Linked DNA regions of Homo sapiens: region 2 is linked to region 1. The links are contacts of gene promoters, found by promoter capture Hi-C in blood cells and fetal thymus (Javierre and others, 2016). All regions are on one chromosome and are shown on one strand. Each heading gives the region's core, a stretch centred on a gene start or on the middle of the fragment in contact. The rest is flanking DNA. Distances are from core to core; before and after follow the strand shown.

What was found. The method cuts DNA at HindIII sites, captures the fragments that hold promoters and counts their contacts. A CHiCAGO score of 5 or more calls a contact.
Region 2: a fragment that was not itself captured here is called in contact with the fragment with the promoter of LUM in region 1 in 1 of 17 cell types (M2 macrophages); the score reaches 5.2 in M2 macrophages.

The regions. Positions count from the first base shown.
Region 1 is chr12:91,109,082-91,114,850 of GRCh38, forward strand. LUM (lumican) reads right to left here and starts at 2,413. Exons shown (of 3, transcript NM_002345.4): 1 at 2,317-2,413. The HindIII fragment of the contact is 5,015 bases long and covers 1,176-5,769 here.
Region 2 is chr12:90,947,991-90,953,759 of GRCh38, forward strand. CCER1 (coiled-coil glutamate rich protein 1) reads right to left here. Exons shown (of 1, transcript NM_152638.4): 1 at 4,225-5,769. The coding sequence ends at 5,532. It overlaps LINC00615 (long intergenic non-protein coding RNA 615), which reads left to right. Exons shown (of 5, transcript NR_038868.1): 5 at 1-679. Among named protein-coding and RNA genes, the nearest start is that of CCER1, 4.3 kb to the right of the region's middle. The HindIII fragment of the contact is 2,543 bases long and covers 1,714-4,256 here.

The DNA.
Region 1 (5,769 bases), core at 1,163-3,662:
TTAGAAAATGTGCATTTTGTTATTTTATAGCTATTTTTAGTGCATCTAACAGCGTCTTTTAAATTTTTATTTAGGTATGAGGACAAAGGTGTATGTTTACAACTATGTAGTGAGCAGCTTTCAGGTTAGATTGCGTACACGTGCGCCCCCTTCTGGGCGAGCCCAGCCTAATTGTTCCAGTCAATCTCCAGGCTCTTCCTTAATGAAATGCCTTCCTGTAAGAGGTTTCTGGGTGGTGTTCATTGACCACCGAATTAGACTACTGCTTCAGATCATCTCTCAAAAAAAGAGAATGAGAAGACAGTTTTTAACTGTATACTCTACCCTACCATTCGACATCATTAAAATGACTCATGAAGAAGATCCTTACGGGAATATGGGCAACCTGAGGTTTTGCTTGTATGTGGGAGGGAAATGGAAGGCACATTCCTTTAAAAGTGTCTGGTTACTGTTGGTTCTGAGGAAGGAGAACAGAATTCTTGGTGCTGGTGTGCATGCATACTAGTTCATGTTGTGCTTAACATTCTACACTTTTTAAAGCACATTGCAAAACTGTGTTCTGGAACTAATATTTCATAAATTAGCTATTTACTAAACAAAATATTAGTAATATTTAATAATTGCTAATGTTTATCAGGAAAATGTCACACATTCTGAAGGTTTCTCTTTCTGGAAAGAGATTCAACAGGTAGAGAAAGATAGTATTTTCCAAGTTTTCAATTAGAGTTATAGTCTCTCTCAATTACTCACAAGTTCTCTACTTTCTTCATGCCAAAATCGAAGATGCCATGGTTTGCATATCTGGCTTTTAGTGGCCTCACAGAATGGAGGTGGGAGAGAGGTGTGATGTTTTTAAAGTTTGGATTTAATACTGGTGTTAGAACTATCTAGTAAATTATTCAATTGAGAATATGAATTTGAAATAATGTGTAACAGTTATCTTCTCATAGGAACATGTTTCTAAGGTGAGGCTCAAAAAAGTACATTTCAATGTCTTAGGTGCAGCAATTTAGATATGGGAAAATTGGAATATAAGAGTTAGACTTTTATAGAGTGAACAGTTGTGGCTGAGGCAAAGTTGGTAGCCCTGGGAGATAAATCATTAATGTGACGAAAGATCTACATTCTAATAGATAACTGAGAATATTATATCTTTCTATGAAAGTATGATTACAAGCTTTTGGATCAAAGTAGTTTGGGATAAGCAGGATCTTTGGGGTTAGAAACTGAAAACGTCTTTTATTTGTTTTAATTTGAAATTGTAAGGCACTTTATTTCAGATCAGATGGAACGTTATAAAACAGCTTTTAGAAATACTTTGATTGCTGACATAAGGTAACATGTAGCCAGATTCTCAGTAAATTACTCTCTAAGATTTTAATGGGGGCATTTAATTTTGCTGACAGAACTTGGCCATAATAATAATTGCATAGCACTAAAAAGAACGTGATGACATATTCCCAGAGTTATTTTAAGTTATAGAATGTAAATACTGTAAAGATTTGTCTTGCTTTATTAATAAGCTATTTTAAATTTACTATACACCAAAATATGGCAACTATAATGTGAGTATTAAATAGTAATGAAAAATGCTTCCATATTTTTTGGCAAAGTAAAAACAAGGATGCTGAATTGAATGAGAGTTTGCAACCATATAATGACTCCACTATGAGGCAAAATCACACTGTACTACCCTCAGTTTTTTCAAATACCTGTGGCTATAGAGAAAATGCTGTTTTCAAAAACGAAATCATTTCCCAGAACTTTTTAAAAAACTCGTTCCTTAAGGCATATATCCAAGAAACAAATTTTTTAAATTAACAAAACAGAAATAAATAATCCATAAGAGTTCCTAAATCTTTTAGCTCATGTTTTATAACATAGAACGTTTATTGTAAATTATAACAAATTGTCACAATATGCTTATTAAAAGATATTTTGAATGCTGATTAAAATGACTTTTCTTTGCTCCAGTATTAGGGTCCAATACTAACATATATAACTAACTAGCATACATAACAAACATATTAATTTCTATATTTTTTCACTGTGTCTACTTTAACTATTTTCTCATTCTAACCTTGAAACTTTTTATAACTTCTCTTGCCAAGCAATACAGCATATACTGTATAAAATCTCAAATCTATAAATCATGGAAAACATATTAACAAAATGTGAAACTAAATGCTCAGAACTGTGGATTTGCTGTTGAATAGCAATTGGCAAAATTGCTCTGGAATTTTTCCTGTTCCTGTTACAAAAAACGCTGTCCCAAACAGTTAACATCCCCAGTGCAATAGTTAAAACAGCACTTACCTTACTGTCTTGACACTGCTTTCGTTAATTCTTAAAGCAGATGCACTATGGACAAGAATCCACCAATATATGCTGTGAACTCTGTCAGGACGGAACTGGCTGCCAGATTCTGAGTGATACAAGAGCTGAAGGGGGGTGGGGAGACCCAGCCCAGTCACGCCAGTCTCTGAATGGAGTTATGTCATTGTGGGGATCTTGTGGTGTGGCATGTGAACACTGCTCTCTAACGAAGTGCAGGTGAACGTGGGGAGAAAGGACAGCCCAGCTCATTCCCTATGGAATGGGAGAGAGATATGTGTTTAACTAGCTCAAATACCATAGCTTTTAACCAAGAATTGAGTCCTGCTTCAAATAAGGAAGCTCACTGTGAGAACATTTTTCTTACAAGCCTCTTTACATCTGTGGCTGTGGCAACAATTAAGTGCAATGTGCTCAGCCAACTATCATGTTTATCTAAAGATCTCAGAAATCATAAGCAGGGCAAATAATTTCAGGAAAACGCAAATGAACAGACTCAGAGGAATTGAATCCCTTTGCCTATCACTTTTGAAATCAATATTGATTTACTTGGACTAACTTAATTTTTTGGCCATGAGGGTAGCTTACATTAGTTTTAAAAATATAAAATATGCTTCATATACACTTGGATACACATGATAAATATCAACATTTCAAGTTTACTTCTAATGCTAAGGAGACTCATTTTATGTTATTCAGGTCTGGAACCAATCAGCAAAGTCTTGCCTGTTTTTTATTTTGTGGATTTCGTTTAGGAATTCACCCAAAACCTTACTTGGGGAGAGCATTCTATAGCTTAATGCCAAAAAACATAAAAGAACAGAGAAAAAAATAAATTTATACTAAAAGTATCACAAGGCAAGAATCTTTCATTGCATGCTAGTAATTTTTTTTCAAAGTTAAAAGTTATTCAAAGTTATAATCTCCCAAAGGCCTGGCTGGATATATCTTTCATTATCAGCTCCTGATGCATGGTTTCAGCAAATGAGAGATGTACTTAAATCCTTGTCTATTTCATTTTGTGATTTTATCAGATATATTTATGAGATTTTTTTCTAAAATGTTCATTTCCTCATGTTTATAAGAACTTTTACACCAATATATTTTAATATAAGTTGTCACATTGTATTTTTGTCTTTAAAAATAACTATATCACATTTTAGCAGTGAGACTTGTGGAAAATTAACTCCATGACTAATACTGCATTTGTCCGAAAAAAAGACTATTAGAATAAATGGCTTATTTTTGTAATAGCAGTGTTCAAAAACAAAAAGTAATCTTCTTGAAAGTAACTAATGGAATTGTAAGATGATTCATAAACATAACATTTTTCCTAATATTATTTTAAGAAAATTATTGATAGGCCTCAGTTTCAACAAAGTAACTGAATAAATTTATAAGGAATTAAGAAAAAAAGACAAATCAATCGAATATAATTAAGTGATCTTGTTATAAGAGGATTCTTAAAACAATGCTATGTATTAATTTTGAGTGTATCAAATTCTATAATCTGAGCTCTTGTTAGAAAAACTCCACCTATCCATTCCTTAAGATTTTTCTTTATAAAGCAATACATGTGTTGTGGTATTTATAACAGACCTCAAATGCATTATATTGGATTTAGCTCATTGTAAAGTCTTGTCAACATATACTTTTTAATAAAATCAGTTCTGTGAAACCAATAATTGAATAATTTTGTGCGTTTCAGAGCATATTTTCAGGGTCCAATAGAAAGAAATGAAATTAACATTTATAGTGGATCTAATATATTCCATGATTTATACTCAGAGTTTTCACATTTCTTCCTTTAAATTTCATACATTAAAATTCCTATGGTATGTTTTACTACTCTATTTTCAGGAGTATAAATGGAGAGTCAGAAAGTCTCATTCATTTGCTAAAAGTCACCTAACAAGTAAATGTAAGAATAAAACCATGAACATCTTCACTCACTGGGAAGAGGGTGAACAGGATGGAGCTGAGACAATGTAGTTCACTCAATCAGCTTAAAATACTTTATAGACAATGTTACTATCAGTTGAGAAAAAGCAGAAATATTAAATAGGCAATAGTTATTTAAAAAGTCAAATGTTAATTAAGCAATAGTTTCTTTCCTTTTACATTACACACTAACATATAACATGCATAGCCACATCCACATCTCAGAACTTTTGGGTAACGTATAAACATTCCATCCTGGCCAATGGTGATTCACATCATTGGTGATAATGAGCATTGGAGGCTAAATGCATTTCATCACAATACAGGTTAAAATGATGGGAGTTCTCATTGTTCACCTCCCACTTATGAGTGAGAACATGGGGAACAATACACACCCGGGCCTGTCAGGGGTTGGTGGGCACGGGGAAGGACAGCATTAGGAAAGATACCTAATGCATGCAGGGCTTAAAACCCAGATGACGGGTCAATAGCGGCAGCAAACCACCATGGCAAATGTGTAACTAAGCAACGAACCTGAACATTCTGCACATGTATCCCGGAACTTAAATTAAAAAGAAAAAAAAAAAAAGATGGAATTGCCCTCTTCAGCCCAGGGACTGGATTCCCTGTTACCTGAGACCAGCAAGGATAATAAAGCATGTTATGACTGTTTCACACACTGTGTTCTGAACCCAGCCCTGGACTTACAGGGGAAAAGAATAAATTAAGTATTCCATCCCAGAGATAACTATCTTTTGGTATATCTTCTTAATGTGTGGGTATAAACATAAACACACAGACAATTTGGTTTTCACATATATCATAACATTATGCTTATAGTGCCAGACCCATTTTCATATAACAGTAAATCATTGATGTTTTTCTATATCATTAAATATCATTCTCTACTGTCATTTTTATTTGCTACATGAAATTCTGTTATATGGATATACCATAATGTAGTTGTTAGTTTTTAATATTGAACACTTGATTTCTCTTAAAATTTGCAAAGCACTATCACATAAAATGAAATTTTAATCTTTAAATTGGTTGTACCTGCTTTGTCTATTCTGCTTATCTCAAAAGATACATTTTAAATGAAAGCATATTTTGAGTAAATGGTTTATGCTTTCAAATCATAGAGTGGAGTGGATTTGAATTTTTTCTCTTCTCACAACAATCTAATTCCCATTCTTAATTTTAGCATCTTACAAGTCATGAAACTATCTTTTATTTACATAGTCCTTATACTCATAGCTGTATGTATTTTCAAACTTACTCTACAATTGCTTTTATTTTTCTTAGTATCTTACATGACAAGTACATTTTTGGAATTATCAATGATATGGTTTATTATATGTTTTTCAGTAATAAGTGTGCATTATAAGAGTAATATATATAAATTGGAACACTATACCAAAACATTAACCAGCATAGCAGTATATAAGGTTAAACATTAAATAACCCCTGGCTTAACTAACTCTCCAATTGCAC
Region 2 (5,769 bases), core at 1,735-4,234, 160 kb before region 1:
TCTGGGCTCGAACCAATACAAGCACCTTTCAAGCAGTATATTCTTCAGTGTCTTGATCCTCCAAATAACTCTCTTCTAATTCCTCCTGACCACAAAAAGCACTTATACTCTAGGATGACTGATTCCAGCCCAGTGGCCTGGCAAGGGTGAATTACACCTTGCATATCACACTCTTGACATTTGTGTGCGCTAGCATAAGAATTATAATTGAAACAGGGATTTAAGTATCTCCTCTCTAGGTGCCTACCCTCCTTGGACTCAGGTCAAATTTATTAAAGGAAGTTTTGTTTCTAGATAGGTTGTTTGAAATAAAATAACAGAATGTTCAAGTAACACAGTGTACCTACAGCTTTTAACAAAATTGAGGACTTGGGTCTCGAAACAATTTCCTTTGATTTTCAGGTATTTTATCTATAAAAAGGGAGATAAAGCATTAGTTCATAGGACAGTTATATGTTTAAATGTGATAATGTATATTAACCACCTTGCATGTATTCAAATGTGTTTTGAAATCTAACGTCTACATTTTGATAGTTTAACTGTTCTACATAAGTGACTTACAACAGGCATTAAATATTGTTTGGCATTTTCATATATCTGTAACTGTATCTTAATCTACAATGAGCTTAATTTTAAGTGTAGCATAAAACAGAACCTTCAATAAAGTGGTAATATTAGGAATGATATCCAGTTATCTTATACACTTATAAAGTTACCTATAAATTCTTACGAATATTTTTCTAAAGTAAAATTTTGATTTTACTTTAATTATAGATGAGAAGCAACAAAGCAACATTTATAACAATTTATCCCACTCAGGCATTTGTTCCCACCAAATGTGTATATTGATATACGTACACATAAAATATTCCTGTGTTAGATTGTCGTCACATCACTTATATAAACTATTAACCCACTACAAACAAATTTGTTTTTCAAGTATTACAGTTGCATTGATTTTGATTTTGAAAATATGCATTCAACTATCCATTGCTTCTATGGAAAAGGACGGGTAATTCTTAGCACCAACCATTAGAGCATTAATGTCAACCGTAAAAGGAAACATCATTGACCTGGGGCAAGGGCAGGGGCAGAGGGGAGATAAAGGACAGAGAATATTATCTTGGGAAAGAGTTCAACTCTAGAGATTTAACTGGTTCTCATATAGTCTGCATAATGGTATCTGCAGCTCAAAGGTAATGTATCTGATTAGAGTTACACTAGGGGAAATAGGGCAGAGTTAATTAATCATTTTGTTATTTTGGGAGATTTTACACTTATAGTTGCTCGCATCACTAACAAGTAACTTTTAGACACCACATAACATGTCTATGACCTCATTTGTGTATTTACTGAATACTTATTGTAACTAGGAAGTATTGAATGCCACTGTTCTGAGTGCTTGGTAACTATTATCTCACTTAGTCTTTACAATCTCATTTCATCCATGAGGTAGGTACTATAGATGAGGAAAATGAGATGTCAAAATTTCAGTAACAACCCTGAGGTCACACAAGCAATAAATGATAGTTTTGAATGCATAAACCATAGTCTTAATCATTAAATTCCCATGAGGCTTCTGCAATGGATCTAACACCTGGGTGTCAGTGCTGCTGGTTCATAGACCACACTTTAAAAATCATGGCAGTAGACAATGTGAAGTGTCCATTTACACACTATTTTACCAGAAGCCAAAACTACATTTCAAGGACAAGCTTGTTCATACTTAGTTCTGTGGTATTAATAACAACTGAAATATCTGATATGTCAGCCCAATAGAATTGCTATAAGATTTTCTGGGTCTTGCTAATAAATTTAGACTGAACTAATGTTCAGAAATTATGTGAGATAACTTTATAAAATGTAGTTTAACATATAATGGTCAACAGTGTTTTGCAGTTATAATACAATTCTTCTTAAATATTGAGTATTTTGTCTTCACAATATACCTAAGTGATAAAGTATAATCACTAACACTGAGGAAAGAGAAACCCAAGGCAAGTGGCCACCATCACAGGTCACTTAGGCAGCAGGACAACACACATCCAGGCCTTCCCATGCCACATCCAAATCTTCTCTTCCATTAGCCGACCTTGACATTGGACTGTATTCCACTAATTAACTAAAACTAAATAAAGAAAAATGCTACTTAGCTACTGAAACAGCTAAGATAGCCACATTCTGATTTTGATTTTAATATATAGATAATCAAGGCCAAGGTGATATGACAACATTGAGTAATTTTCGGTTGTCTTACATTAACATAAACCTTATTGAATACAAAACATGGCTGCATGTATCATTTTATTACGCTGCTAAAAAAACCTGTAATTTAAGGACTTTTTTTAGTCTTATCGACTCCCTTAACCCAAGGTCACCTATAGGAGATGTATCATTTATTTCCCAGATCTGTAGGTTTGTGTTAACTGGAGGAGATTAGTCATTTCACCTCTACATTTATTTTAATAGAACTAAATATGTTACAAATACTGTCTTCCTCATATACGGATGTTCTACAATTTTATAAAATCATACTCAGAGTTCAGAGTTGATCTCTAGATGTCAAGTGTATTTACCATCTTTAGAGGGCTAATATTTTCACATCAAATAAAATTCCTCGAGGTTACTGTGGAGACAAAGTAATGAAGACAAATCAAGAAATGCTGTCAGTCTCTAGAGGATGAAAATGCCAGAATCTCCACATGAGAAAAAAAACCTCAGAATAGACAGCAACAACGCTTATCAAGTCCAGGCCCTATAATCATGTTTTATGATTTATAACGTTATTTTTCTGACAACTGGCAGAATAGCTCCATTCTTGAAAGAAATGCCTAACTGGCACCTCATCCTCACTGTGCTCACCCAATAAAGTTTGAAATAATTTTAATAATAATGAATTTATTTTGGAAAATTGTATTTTCTCTTCATGTGTACACATACCTCTAAAACTAAAACTGTGCAAGAGGCTCTCCATGGGAGTTGAGAACTATGGTGCTCCAATCATGCTGAGCAAGAAACCCTAAGATCCCCCTCATTACATGATAGTGGTTGGTTAGAATGGTGGGTGTCCCGGGATGACCAATCCCTTCAACCCCTAACATGGGTTAATTATTTCATATTAGCCATCAGGATTAGTAAAGCAAGCATCACAGTATCTGGCTAGTTAAAAAAAAAAAAAAGAAGAAGGTCAGGTAGAGAATCATCAATGACTAATAGTTTTCTCCTCTCATTAATTTTTGCTGGTGTCTATTCTAGAAGATATGGATGGCATAAAAGTCAATAGAATAGATAATATGGATTCTGCATACTTCTCTCACTTGTCATTGGCCGTTGCTTCCAGACATGCTGGTCTTTCTATCCTCAGTTCCTCAAAGGCATCAAGCTCCTCTCAGCTCTTGGCCTTTAGACTTAGGGGTCCCTCTGCCCACGATAAACATCCTCAGCCTTACTCCTGGGTTCTCTAGTGATCTATGTTTTTATAGTGGTACATTTCCTTCAGACCACTTGCAATGAGCAATCCATCTAACTCATTTAATGTCTGACTTTTCTACTAAACAATAACAATGTCAGAATGGGGTTTTGCTTATTCACCATTGTATTCTTATCACTGTTCACAGTGCTTGGCCCCCAGTAGTTCAATATTTGCTGAATAATGGTTCATGCACAAGAATGTAGACTCCTGAGGCATTGCACATGTTTACATCCCTTAAAATAACTAGTGAATAACATCTTTGCATATGAAGGCAATTAATATGTGGTGAATTCTTAAATTTAAAATATTTTGCAGGAAGAAATAGAGAAATGTCCAGATGGGATTGTAAATAAATTCAATCCTAAATGAAAAAAGGCTTCTCCAGTGAGAACATACTTAACTTTGACCTTTTGATTAAGTGTCATCAGTAAAGTATTTATGGGCTATGACTTGCATGGATTTATTACCTAGCTTCAGGAGCTGGATTCTTGATTTCCCTCTACTTATATATATTAGAACAGTAAAACACATAGGGATGGCTACTTTTAATTTTATAGGTCATTCAGAAATTGCATCTTGTAGAAAGTAATGATATCTTAGAGTTTTGGTTATTCACCACTGCAATTTGGAATGTTTGGTGTAATTTTAAAATTCCTAAGTTTTTTCCCCCTTTCTTCTATTCATCCTTTTGGCCACTGAAGCATTGCTGCATGGATTTGTGATATTTCAATAATGAGAAATGAGAGGCAAGGTACTTTAATACTTTTTATTATTTAATAGCTCAAGCTTATCACCTTGAAAATTGTAATATATCAGTAACAACCAACATTCAGGTAAGACATCACCACACATTCTTCTCTTCAACAAATAAATGCTAACTTGTGGTTCAAAGTCAAAAGATTTAATTTCTGAGAAGGCATGTTTAAATTCATCATCTAGGGATATTCTGGAAATATGCTATGGATGGAACTTTTATCAACTGTCCAGGAAGAAATGTATTATTACTTCCTAAAAATGTTTGAACAAAAGCTATTACTTTGAATGATGTATTCTCCATAGGTAATTGCTGTTTAGACATCAGAAACTAGCTCACACAGACTCACACTTACACATCTTTGTTTTACTCTTCTTTATAACAAAGACAAATTCAAAAACAAAATAAGATATTCCACCCCCAAAAGGTAGATAATCTTTTTATCTAAAAAAAAAAATCCATTCTGGAAAACTATTTTTATGGCTCCTCAGAACTTAGGATAAAGACTATATCCAATAACGAGGCTTCAAAACCTAAGCCATGTTCCACTGTTTGCAGTTACCTTGGACTTTAACTAGATGTGCAAGTTGACTTCTGACCATGGGGAATCCTCTCCATGACTGGATTATGGATTGTTGAGGCCATGGCAGATAACCAGTTCCACAGAAGCAACTTCATGTTCTTCTGAGGAAGATCCATAGCACTGTGGAACAAGGAATATCAATAAGCGATGACACAAGAGCCTGCAAATGAGGTTAACAAAATATAACCCTCAAAAATGAACTCTGATGGTGGAAAAATCTATGAGGAAAAATATTGTTGAAAAAATACAGGGATTGAAAATGGCTTCAGTTATGTTAAGAGCACTGGTGAACATTTAGTAGCGTTAGAATGTGCTTCTTACGCATGTAATAAACTATCTCTTGATTCCAAGCTCATTAAGTGGCCAAGTTGTATAAATTTGTTTCAAAAACAAACGCTTTTTCAGCATTGCCAGATTTAAAAAAACAACAGCAACTCTGTTTTCTAGAGGGGAAAACACCAAATGAAAATATTCAAATGGTAGTAATAAAATACTTGGCCTTTAATCAGTTCCAGTAAAATTATATTTGAAAGCTTCCCCACCACCCACCCATAGTCATACACATACGCATCAAATTTTAAACATTTTATAATGGCCAAAGAAGGTGTTTACATAGATCTGTTTATTAATGGAACTCACTTTTTAATCAGTTTTTAATAAATTGCTAATCCAGTTTAGCCTCAAATCAGTTCCATCCCTTTTCTCAATCCCTTTTCTGATGTCTAACAGTTAAAGTCCTGTGCCATGAACAGGGATTCCTGTGGCACTTTGGGAATTATCTGCTCTGGGTTTAAAAAAGTGCAGCTTATAAAGTTCTCTCTCTTTTCTTCAGCCTCTACGAAGATTGATAAAGGCATTTCCAGAGGCAAGTGAAATTCTTCCCCTCTCTGCTCGTTCTCCTCCAGGACCTCCTCTTCCTCTTCCAGCTCCTCCTCTTCCAGCTCCTCCTCTCCCTCCTCC